Regions from separate parts of the Homo sapiens genome. Here regions 1, 2 and 4 are each linked to region 3. Evidence: promoter capture Hi-C in human tissues and cell types (Jung and others, 2019). All regions are on one chromosome and are shown on one strand. Each heading gives the region's core, a stretch centred on a gene start or on the middle of the fragment in contact. The rest is flanking DNA. Distances are from core to core; before and after follow the strand shown. Region 1 overlaps CUL4A (cullin 4A). Region 2 holds the start of TFDP1 (transcription factor Dp-1). Region 3 holds the start of ADPRHL1 (ADP-ribosylhydrolase like 1). Region 4 overlaps CUL4A (cullin 4A).

What was found. The method cuts DNA at HindIII sites, captures the fragments that hold promoters and counts their contacts. A contact is called where the count stands out against the background at its distance.
Region 1: a fragment that was not itself captured here is called in contact with the fragment with the promoter of ADPRHL1 in region 3 in 1 of the 25 tissues and cell types used here (mesendoderm cells).
Region 2: a contact is called between the fragment with the promoter of TFDP1 here and the fragment with the promoter of ADPRHL1 in region 3, in 1 of the 25 tissues and cell types used here (heart right ventricle).
Region 4: a contact is called between a fragment that was not itself captured here and the fragment with the promoter of ADPRHL1 in region 3, in 1 of the 25 tissues and cell types used here (H1 embryonic stem cells).

What each region holds. Positions count from the first base shown.
Region 1 is chr13:113,259,052-113,261,867 of GRCh38, forward strand. It overlaps CUL4A (cullin 4A), which reads left to right. Exons shown (of 20, transcript NM_001008895.4): 19 at 1,556-1,708. Among named protein-coding and RNA genes, the nearest start is that of MIR8075, 2.5 kb to the right of the region's middle. The HindIII fragment of the contact is 6,677 bases long and covers 1-2,816 here.
Region 2 is chr13:113,583,209-113,586,057 of GRCh38, forward strand. TFDP1 (transcription factor Dp-1) reads left to right here and starts at 1,545. Exons shown (of 12, transcript NM_007111.5): 1 at 1,545-1,680; 2 at 2,566-2,641. The coding sequence starts at 2,630. RefSeq lists enhancers at 1-367, 368-1,339 and silencers at 1,308-1,637, 2,008-2,377. The HindIII fragment of the contact is 44,568 bases long and covers 1-2,849 here.
Region 3 is chr13:113,452,067-113,454,766 of GRCh38, forward strand. It overlaps ADPRHL1 (ADP-ribosylhydrolase like 1), which reads right to left and starts at 1,422. Exons shown (of 8, transcript NM_001394807.1): 1 at 1,158-1,422. The coding sequence starts at 1,371. The HindIII fragment of the contact is 9,965 bases long and covers 1-2,700 here.
Region 4 is chr13:113,225,676-113,228,375 of GRCh38, forward strand. CUL4A (cullin 4A) reads left to right here. Exons shown (of 20, transcript NM_001008895.4): 4 at 2,301-2,370. Among named protein-coding and RNA genes, the nearest start is that of CUL4A, 17 kb to the left of the region's middle. The HindIII fragment of the contact is 5,587 bases long and covers 1-2,700 here.

The DNA of each region.
Region 1 (2,816 bases), core at 23-2,522, 190 kb before region 3:
AATGCTATTTGTCTTTGTATATTTATTTTATTTCCAGCCACTTTACAAAACTCTTTAGCTTTGAAAGTTTTTCTGTTGATTTTCTTGGATTTTCCAGCTCATCTACAAATAATGATCGTTTTGTCTGCACCTTTTCAATATACCTCTTTAGTCTGTTCCTGTATTGCATAGTTAGAACCTCTAAAGTAATGTTTTTAAGGAATAGCAGTGCAGCTGAGCTTCCTAATTTTATCTCTAGTTCAGAGGATGTTAACTTTTTGGGGGTCATGGATCCTGTTGAAAATGTGATGAAAGCTTGGAGTCTCTCCCATCCTGAAGCATACTTGCCTCATATGTATGCACAGACCTTCCCCCAGCCCTCATTTCAACTGCAGATCCCCATCAGGTTCCTGTTGGACTAAGGTTAAGTTGTCTCTAGTATTTGCTGTTTGTTTCTGATAACCATGTTTTATCATGTTCAGATGCTTTTTTATTCATCCTTGTATGCTAATGTTTGTTTTAAATCAAAAAATCAATTTTATCATGCCTTTTCAGCATCTATCAAGATGGTCATGTAATCTAACCTTTCAACTGCTACAGTGCTCTCACTTATATTCACAGATTTCCTAATGTTGATCAACACTTAACATTTCTGGAATATATCCTGATGGTCATTATGTTTTGTTTACTGTGCTGCTAGTTTTAATCTACATCACACATAGAGTTGTTGCAGCTTTCTTATAAGGAAAATAACTTTTAAAAATATTTTTTAAGTTTTGGTTTTGGAGTTTTGCTATTCTGGGAAGGTACCTTTTACTACAACAAGTAAACATGCATAATAAAGTAGGATTCATCCAATGTCTGACCTTTCTTTGCATCAAAAGAACATTTCCGGCCAGGCACGGTGGCTCACGCCTGTAATCCCAGCACTTTGGGAGGCCGAGCCAGGTGGATCACGAGGTCAGGAGATCGAGACCAGCCTGGCTAACATGGTGAAACCCTGTCTCTACTAAAAATACAAAAATGAGCCGGGCATGGTGGGGGGGCACCGTAGTCCCAGCTACTTGAGAGGCTGAGACAGGAGAATGGCGTGAACCCGGGGGGCGGAGCTTGTAGTGAGCCGAGATCGCGCCACTGCACTCCAGCCTGGGTGACAGAGTGAGACTCCGTCTCAAAAAAAAAAAAAAAACCATTTCCCATCAAATTCGGTAACATCAGGTCATTAATATTGAAATATAGGCCAGGTGTGGTAGCTCACACCTGTAATCCCAGCACTTTGGGAGGCCAAGGTGGGCGGATCATCTGAGGTCAGGAGTTCAAAACCAGCCTGGCCAACATAGTGAAACCCTGCCTGTACAAAAATACAAAAAGTAGCCGGGCATGACAGCAGGTGCCTGTGATCCCAGCTACTCGGGAGGCTGAGGCAAGAGAATCGCTTGATCCTGGGAGGCGGAGGTTGCAGTGAGCCGAGATCACACCATTGCACTCTAGCCCAGGCAACTGAGTGAGACTCCATCGCAAAAAATAAAAAGAAAATACAGTTTTACACTTAACTTTTTTTTTCTTTTTTATACAGGTTGAGGAACAGGTTAGCACCACTGAGAGAGTGTTTCAGGATAGACAATATCAGATTGATGCTGCTATCGTCAGAATAATGAAGATGAGAAAGACTCTTGGTCATAATCTTCTAGTTTCTGAATTATATAATCAGCTGAAATTTCCAGTAAAGGTAAATGTAACATTAGCATAATTAAATTTGTAGTATTTGCTAAACAATTGACAAAGCATGTTTAATTCTATGTTCAGTCATATCATTTGACCTGCATTATTCATGGTGCTTTGTGTATACACTGAATGTAGAAAAACTGGCAAATGTGAAGCTCTTTATTCCAGGTGTTGCTCATTGCCACTGCAGAAATGATAGAGCCCTAAAACTCTCCTTCCCAGGGATGGTGCGCGCTTGTTCATATTTTCAGGAAGGGAAGAGGTAGATGGGACATGGAAAGCTGAACACTTTTCTCATAGTAGTAGCGGTCAAGGTTACATCACAAGATTTTAAGGAAATGATAACAATAACTAACTTACTCAGCGTTTACAGCCTACACCGCGTTTTCCACCACGGTAATAGTCTACTGTTGCTGTTGCTTATGAAAGTCAGCCCAGGCCTGTCAACCCGCGTTGTTTTCAGAACTGAGATTTACTGTCCTGCCACGTGTGGGATGCAGGATAAGCCGGGAAAGTATTATGAAACGTTTTTTACATGTATTTATCAACCCAGGAAATACTGAACTCTGATGACGCCTGGCCTCTCAGGGACAGGACCGGCCACACGTGCTTTGGAGGGAAAGTCCCCAGATTCCATGTTGTGCAGTTTGAGCCTCCCATTCCATCAAGGGAATAAAGTTGAGATGCACTAAATAGTCGAACACTTAAGAGTCTGGTGGAAGTGCCACTGTCCATCAGCCCACATTTGCCCCCTTCCCTGCAGAGGTGAGGTGCCGTCCTCAGGGCCCTGGGAAGCTCCAAAAGCACCATCAGGTTCACTGCCCCTTCCTCCCACCAGCTGGAGCAAGTCTCCTGTTGCCACTGCAAACAATCAGGCCCAGCGCGAAGCAGAGGTGAGCAAGAGTGGAGTGTGGCAGACCAGGGCACCTGCTCTGCTCTCGGGTAGAGAGTGGCAGACCAGGGCGCCCACTCTGCTCTCAGGGGTAGAGTGTGGCAGACCAGGGCGCCCGCTCTGCTCTCGGGTAGTTGGGTTTTTTTTTTCTTTGAGATGGAGTCTTGCTGTCCCCCAGGATGGAGTGCAGTGGCACGATCTCGGCTCACTGTAACCTCTG
Region 2 (2,849 bases), core at 295-2,794, 130 kb after region 3:
GCGTCCGGTGGGCACCGAGGACGCCCAGAATTGTTGGGAATCTGGGCGGAGGCCCGTCGTGGGCTTGGAGGCCACCGGGTCCAGCAGAGGCAGAGGCCTCTGTGCCACGCACGCACACACACCTGCTCTCCTCCGTGTGTCCACATACACACGTCTATGCACACACCTGCTCTCCATACATGCACAGCCCCACACACAGTCGGCCCTTTATGTGCACACACACTCGTGCACACAAGCGGCCCCCTCTCCTCCGTGCATACAGGCGCACACACAGCTGGCTCTCCTCTTTGAGCACACACACTCAAGCACACACCCGGCCCCGCTCTTCCAAGTGCACACACACTCCTGCACACACTAGTCCCTGCTCCCCCCCCCACACTCGCGCACACAGCCGGCACTCTCTGCTCCCTGCACACAAACACACATCCTGACATACCCGGCCCCCTACCTGCTGCCCCATGTGCACACACACTAGTGCACACACCAGTCCCCGCTCCCTCACATGCACACACACTAGTGCACACACCAGTCCCCGCTCCCTCACATGCACACACACTAGTGCACACACCAGTCCCCGCTCCCTCACATGCACACACACGAGTGCACACACCAGTCCCCGCTCCCTCACATGCACACACTAGTGCACACACCAGTCCCCGCTCCCTCACATGCACACACTAGTGCACACACCAGTCCCCGCTCCCTCACATGCACACACTAGTGCACACACCAGTCCCCGCTCCCTCACATGCACACACACGAGTGCACACACCAGTCCCCGCTCCCTCACATGCACACACACGAGTGCACACACCAGTCCCCGCTCCCTCACATGCACACACACGAGTGCACACACCAGTCCCCGCTCCCTCACATGCACACACACGAGTGCACACACCAGTCCCCGCTCCCTCACATGCACACACACGAGTGCACACACCAGTCCCCGCTCCCTCACATGCACACACACTAGTGCACACACCAGTCCCCGCTCCCTCACGTGCACATGCACTAGTGCACACACTAGTCCCTGCTCCCCCACGTGCACACACACTCTTGCACACAGCCGGCCCCGCTCCCCCACGTGCACACACCAGCTCCCGCTCCCCCACATGCACACACACTCGTGCACATAGCCGGCCCCGCTCCCCCATGTGCACACACACTCTTGCACACAGCCGGCCACCTCTCTCTCCGGACACACACAGTCAGAGGCGCGCACAAACACAGTCCCTTGGCCGCCGAGCGCACGCCGCGCGCGCGCACTGCCCGTCCCGGCGCAGGCCCCAGCTACATCTCCGCACGCGCACGCGCACACACGGACACGCGCGCACAGCCCCTCCCCGCTCTCCCAGGGCGCGCAGCACTGGCGGGAGGAGCGGGAGACCGAGGAGCAGCAGAAGAGGAGGAGGAGGGCGCCGAAGGCGCGAAAAGGCGCGCAGGCGCGCTGCGCGGAGCGGGCCCGCCGCCGCCCACGTCACCGCGCCGCGCGCACGTCACGCCGGCCCGACGCTCGGCCAGGGTGAGCCCCGCGTCCCGGCGCCACTCGGCCCAGGGCAGGGACCCCGCCACGGCCGGGACCGCCCGGCCCGGCCCCAGCCCGCGCCTCTCCGCGCCGCCCCGCGCTCCGCACCGCGCCCTCTCCGCGTCCCCGCCCGCGCGGCCGGACCGGGCAGCCAGGTGCGGGTGGGCAGGGGATGCCGCGGGAGCCGCGGGCGGGAGCCGGGGGTGCGGGCGGGACCCCCGGCCACCCCATCCCTTGCCCCGGCCGCGTGTAGGCGCCGCGCGGCCCCGACCCGCGCCCTCCCGCGCCCTGCGCGCTCCTGTGCCTCGGGGACCCCGCGCGCTCGGCGCTGGTAGGGGCTCCCCAGGTGACCGCGGGGCGGGGGTCCCGGGCCCGGCCCTCCCGGCCGACAGCAGCGTCCGCGCCCCACGCTGGAGGTGGGGCCGGGGCCGGGGCCGGGGCTGGGGCCAGGGTCGGCCGGAGCGCGCAGGGCGGGGGAGGGGAGGCCGCCCCACGGCGGCCCGCGGGGACCCGGTTCCGGCGCGCGCGGGAGGCGCCTCGTGCGGAGGCGGCCCGAGGCCTAGTGACAGGCGCGCGGCGCGGACCCCGGAAGCCCACCTGTCAGAGTTACCGGTCAGCCGGGCGGGCGCCGCCGGGGTCTGGGGTGGACGCCGCGAGCCTGCACGTTGCGCCGGGACCCCGGGGCTGTGCCCAGGTGGGTGGTGGGGCACCCCCCTGCAGCGGCGGGAGGGAGGCGCTGCGCCCTGGCTCCTGGGGCTCGGCCCCACCCTCGGCCGCTGGGCGGGCCGTCGGGGACCTGGGGGTAGTGGTGGTGACCCTGCGGGCCCGCGGGCCACTTTTCCGCAGGGGGCATTTCCGTCTGGCGAGGCGACTGAAAATCCTGAGTGTGGGAGTCGGTTTGGCCAGCTCCGCTCTCAGGATGGAGGGTGCCTTTGGGAAGGAAGGTCCGCGTTTCCTTTGAGATGTGTTATTTTTTAAACTTCGTTTTTCATTCTTACTTATTTCTTGTTTTTCCTTACTTTTTTTTTTTTTTTTACCAGAAAAATCATTTTTCTTCTCTGGGAAGGTGAACATTTGTAGCATTGATTTCCCGGATCTGGTAACATGGCAAAAGATGTAAGTATGTTTGCTTCATGCTGCACACGAATGTTTGCCTCGCACTAAATTCTTTGTAGTTCTCTGCCTTTATTTCAGAATGACAACACATAAGCTACAGTAGTGTTTATTTTCAGACTTTTAAAGCGTCTGAAGCGGGATGAAGGTGAAAGATGGAAGGATCTGATCTCTGAAGCTGCGGTCACCACCCACAAGTTGTGGCCTTGGA
Region 3 (2,700 bases), core at 172-2,671:
CAAGAGTGAGCTCCAGCCGTCTACGGTGAAAACAAGCCGGAGCTGTGTCCCACAGGTGTCTGTGTGTGGGGTGCACCTGTTCTGGGCTGCGGGGCACAAGCATGGGGTTGCTGGTCCTAAGGGCACACGAGTGGCCGCCTGGAAAACCAGAAGCAGGAGCTCCTGGACGCCAAGGCTGTGAACAGTCGGACGCCTCCCCGTCTCCAGCAAGCCGGGAGCCTTATCTTATCGCCGGCGCTTCAGCTCTCCCGTTATTTAGGGACCGGCCACAGGCTCGATGGCATTCCTCTGCTGTGAGCACAGAACTAAACTGGGCACGTCCATGGCAGATGAACAGAATGGTGGAGTGAACGCATAAGTGAGATTTCATTGACTTAGCTGCAGCCCTCAGATTTTAATTCTGCCATGATAAACAGCACCCACGGGGTTTTGAAGAGCAAATGCCTCGTAGGAAAGCTGGACTGCATGTCTGTGCACCTGCCATTTCCCTGAAATTCATGCAAAAGCTTGATCCTAAAATCAATTTGCTACTTAAAGGTATTTTAAGAAGCTTTGTCTCCAATCTCGTCCAATCAAGTTTATGTCATTTTCTTAGAACACATTTGTGTATGGGCAACTCTCCAAGCTGAACCATTTTGGGAGATGATATTCTAACTTTAATTCATTGGAATTTAGAACTAATCCCCAAACAGTATTAATGGGTTCACATTTCAAACTGGCTTATTTTACATCCCTTTGTAATGAATTCAGAACAAGAAGGCTTAATCTCTGCAGCGAGAAGTGAGCCCTCACCCTACTCCCACCAGCACGGCCGAGAGAGGCTTCACTGGCTTTAACTCTATTAGAAACAGAAGGTGCTAGGCCTAGTTAACGCTTTACAAATACAAGTGAAAAGTCACGTTTAAAAACTGAATCTTAATAACTGCAAAGTAAAGTAATACTGTCACCCTCAGAGAAACCACAGGAGAAACGTGATCTGCCGCATATCAAATTTGAGGGACACTCAGATTAAATTGCCACTTTTAGCAGCGGTATCAGGTAACACCATCCGCTGAAGGACCGCACTGCCTTCAAAGCTCTCGGAGGCTTACTGGGAGAACTCGAGCAGCCAGTGTTCCCTCCAGCCCGCACACCGGAGCGCGGTGGGCCCAGCCTACCTGTGGTGAGGGCCTCGGCGGTTGCGATGTGCATGATGGTGTTGTCACTCACGGGCCATTCTCCTGGCGAGAGTACGAGGTGGTCCAGGCCCCCGGAACGTTGCAGCTCCTCCTGGATCTTCATGCCTACAGTGCTGTTCTCCTTGCAGACATTTCTGTAGCCAAGAGCATCGCCGACGCTCCCCAGCAACATCGCAGCCTTAAATTTCTCCATCCCAGGAGGCAGCTCCTCTTCCCCAACAGCTGCGGAGCGTCCTGGCCTTTGTCTCCTCCTCAGCCCGCCTGACTTTTATAGTGGTCACTGTGTCACTGTCAGGAGCGTCCTCTGATGGCCAGGCGCTCCTTGTCTATCTCTGCAGGTGGCACCAATGAGAGGACCTTTCTGTCCCCCACGTGGGAGGTGTCAGTTTTCTTCTGCGTCTGGACAGGCACCAGCTCCTCAGCAGAGGAGCCTGCTAGCTTCTGCCGGCAGCCGCAGCACATTCAGAGCGTTGACAGAGCAGGGGCTCCTCTCGCTGTCCCTGGAAGGAGTGCGCACACTTCCCCGTGTGTGGCGTGGGGTGATGCGGGAGCAGATGTGTGCAGGCGTGCCTGTCACTGCCGCCCGCTGCGGGGCGTGCCCTCACCCCTCGGGCAACAACCCATCTGCTGTCTCTACAGTTCTGCCTTTCCTGGACATTTCAAATACAATGTGTGGCCTTCGGTGTCTGGCTTCCTTCACTCAACATAATGTTGAGATTAATCTGTGACATGCGGTTTTATCATTTAGAAAACTTTTCGATTATGAAATGTGTTTTTGATAGAAAACTTTTAAAAAATGCAGTGTAGAGGGAACAAAGTCTATCTAGCTCCTGTGTGAACAATGACGGTGTCTTCTCAGCATGCGGTGTTTAACGGCTCCCAAATAATTGGACTGCACTGAGGGGGAAAGTCGTCAGCAAACCGCAGGCTTCACTAGAACCTCCCATCCGGCCCTCGGTCAGCTCAGTGTATTTACATCATCCCTGCTAGCTCATGAAAAGAATATTAAAAAATATGGAGACGGGGGGTGAGGCAGAATGCACACAGCCAGGGTTCCTGGTTTGAAATAAATTAGGAAAACAGTCCATCTCCCGACCCCACCCCAGGACAGTTCTCCGCAGAGGCCGGGAGCCCAGCAGGGCTGTGTCTCTCCCGTCTCCTTCCTCGGGGCCTGGTTTCCATCAGACCCAGGGGAAGCAAAGAGTTACACCTGGACTGAAGAAATGCGTCTGATAAAAACTCTCGTAGTGTACAGCGAGACAGTAGGAAGCATTTAACCGCCTGGCGTTATATCAGCACTTGTTAAAACGGAGGATCTCAAGCAGTGAGTTCACCTCACCCTCCACTGTCTGCTGGTGGAGGCAGCCATCAGCACAGTCATGCCAGCTAGCATGATCCTGAGATTCAGAAACAAACTTCAAAACCAGCATGCAGGCCGGGCGCGGTGGCTCATGGCTGTAATCCCAGCACTTTGGGAGGCCGAGGCGGGCGGATCCCCTGAGCTCAGGATTTTGAGGCCAGC
Region 4 (2,700 bases), core at 146-2,645, 230 kb before region 3:
CAGAGAGGCTTGCTGGGAGGTCCAGGCCGCAGTTCCCGTCCAGCTCCTGGAGTCAGAGCTGCAGGATGGCTGTTGGGGGTCCTTGAAGCCTGTCCAGATGCACTTGGGATGGGTTTTTTTGTTTTGTCCAGACTGTTTCTGTAGATTCCTAATATAATGAGCCATTATAATTTTGAACAATTTGTAAAGAGTACTTCCAGAGGAACCTGTTAACCATTCAACCATTAGGTCTTTGCTGTAAGTGTCTGTTTTTAATTTTCTGGCAGTGCTTCTGAGAATTCTGCAAAGCCTCAAGAAAAAATAGAGTAAGCTGTCTTAGCCAGGCCCCTGTAGCTTTGGTCACAGCACTTCCTGGTGTGACAAGGACTCAGACCCCCCGGGAGCCCCTTGGCTATCCTCAGCACTGTTTATTCCTCCTCAGGCTCTGCCTGGCACCCTACCCTCCCTGGCACTCTTTCTTTGTCAGGCCACTCGTTGCCACCCTGAGACTCCAGCTCATGTCTGATTTGTGCATCCTACTTAACTGATGTGTTTTTCCTCCTCTCTGTGTGTGAGGATGTTGTCACCACCTCACATTGGCTCTTGAGTGTGAAGTGTCTTGCTGCACGGCAGAAACAGACCTAGAGAAGTCCCTTGGTTTGGCCAGTATTGTGTTGCTGACAGGCGGTGGATCAAGAGTTAAAATGTAGGAAGTCCATGTTCTGTCCCCTTTGACAAGCCATTTTCTTAATCTGTACAAAGGGAACAATGTCTGCACCACGAGGTTGGGGAGATTTTCAGTGAGAGTGGATGTGAAGAGTGTTTCGTAAACCATAAAGCAGTTTATTGTCATTGATGATTCTCAGCTTTGCATGAACCTGAGGGACACCAGACCACTTGCTCTAGGAGCCCATATTCTGGGTTCTTTGTCCTAAACTACTTTTTGGGCCTTTTCCTAAAAATACACATTCTAAGAGTCAAGGTAAGAGTGTTCCTAATTTGGTGCATGGATGAGAGTTCATGTTAGTTTTCATTGAGGCTGGAAGTTAAACCTGAGCCATTTTCCTGTCCAGCTGCACTTTGCCACAGGCTGGGCACACTGGCTCATACCTGTAATCCTAGCACTTTGGGAGACTGAGGAGGATTACTTAAGACCACGTGTTCAAGACCAGCCTAGGAGTATAGTGAGGTGCCATCTCTTTTAATTTTTAAAAAATAGTCCTAGTGACTCTTACCAGGCCAGTCACCATCTCCAGGAGCCCCCCTGTGGGAGTATGTTCAGTGTCTGCCCTTTGTGAAGTGGGGCCTTTTGTCCCGCCACCTACCCCCAGGGCACTTAAGGCCTGGGTGTGTTTCTGCCGGCAGGGACTTGAAGGTGTCTGGCAGTGAAGGAAGGAGAGGATGAAGGGAGGCTGGAGAGGGAGTGGCGAGCGGCCAGAGGCAGGCGGGGCCGTGGGAAGGGAAAGCAGCACAGGCAAGCTGAGTGCACATTGGTGATGAGATACAGAGATCCATGATTGAACTTCTAGTGTATCTTAGCCCACTGGGGCTGCCATGACAAAACACCATAGAGTGTGGCTCATCAACAGCAGGAGTCTGTTGCTCACAGCTCTGGAGGCTGGAGGTCCAGGGTCAAGGCACTGGCAGATTGCATGTCTGGTGGGGCCCCGCTTCCTGGTCCATAGCCAGCACCTTCTCACTGCATCCTTATGTGGTGGAAGAGGCAGGGGAGCTCTCTGGGGTCTCTTTTGTAACCCCATTCTTGAGGCTTGTCCACTCTCATGACCTAATCACCTCCCAGAGGCCCTGCCTCCTAACACCATTACCGTAGAGTGAGAGCTTCAGCCTATGAATTTTGGGGGGACATGAACATTCAAGACTAATATTCTTTCAGTATTCCAGTTACTGAATGGTGTGTAGTATTCAGTGGAGAAGGTAGCTGAAATTAAGGGGTTAAAATTGTAATAATGGCCGGTTGCGGTGGCTCACGCCTGTAATCCCGGCACTTTGGGAGGCTGAGGCCAGTGGATCACAAGGTCAGGAGTTCGAGATCAGCCTGACCAACATGGTGAAACCCCGTCTCTACTAAAAATACAAAAAATTAGCTGGGCGTGGTGGCACACGCCTGTAATCCCAGCTACTCAAGAGGCTGAGGCAGGAGAATCGCTTGAACCTGGGAGGCAGAGGCTGCACTGCTGAGCTAAGATCGTGCCACTGCACTCCAGCCTGGGCGACAGAGCGAGACTCCATCTCAAAAAAAAAAAAAAAGGTAATAATTAAATTGGCCAGCATTTTTAAAGTTTTCCTTAGCAGATCTGTACAGACTCACTAGATAGTGTTTTATTTTTAAAGAAGATTAACACGTGCTGGCAGGACCACTGCAGACAAATGGTAAGCTTGTTCACTTTTTCATCAAAACACGACCTCATCCATCTTCCCTCACCCACATGATTGAGAGCTGAGACATAGAAGTTCTGTTGAGGATTCTGTCTGTGTTCAGTGCTGTGGTTGAACAGCACGATGAGAAAAGCAGGGAAGGTGAACTCCTCAGCTCCTGTGAGAGGGCACCACTGACCCTCTTGGCCTTCAGGTCCACAGTCACAGTCCGCAGTGGTGACAGGGTTCTTAGATGCCTGCATGGGTCTCTAAATGTCTCTTTAAGCACAGTTTACTCCTCAGAATCTAGCCTGAATCCCAGGTCTTTCCTGCAGCTGCACAACC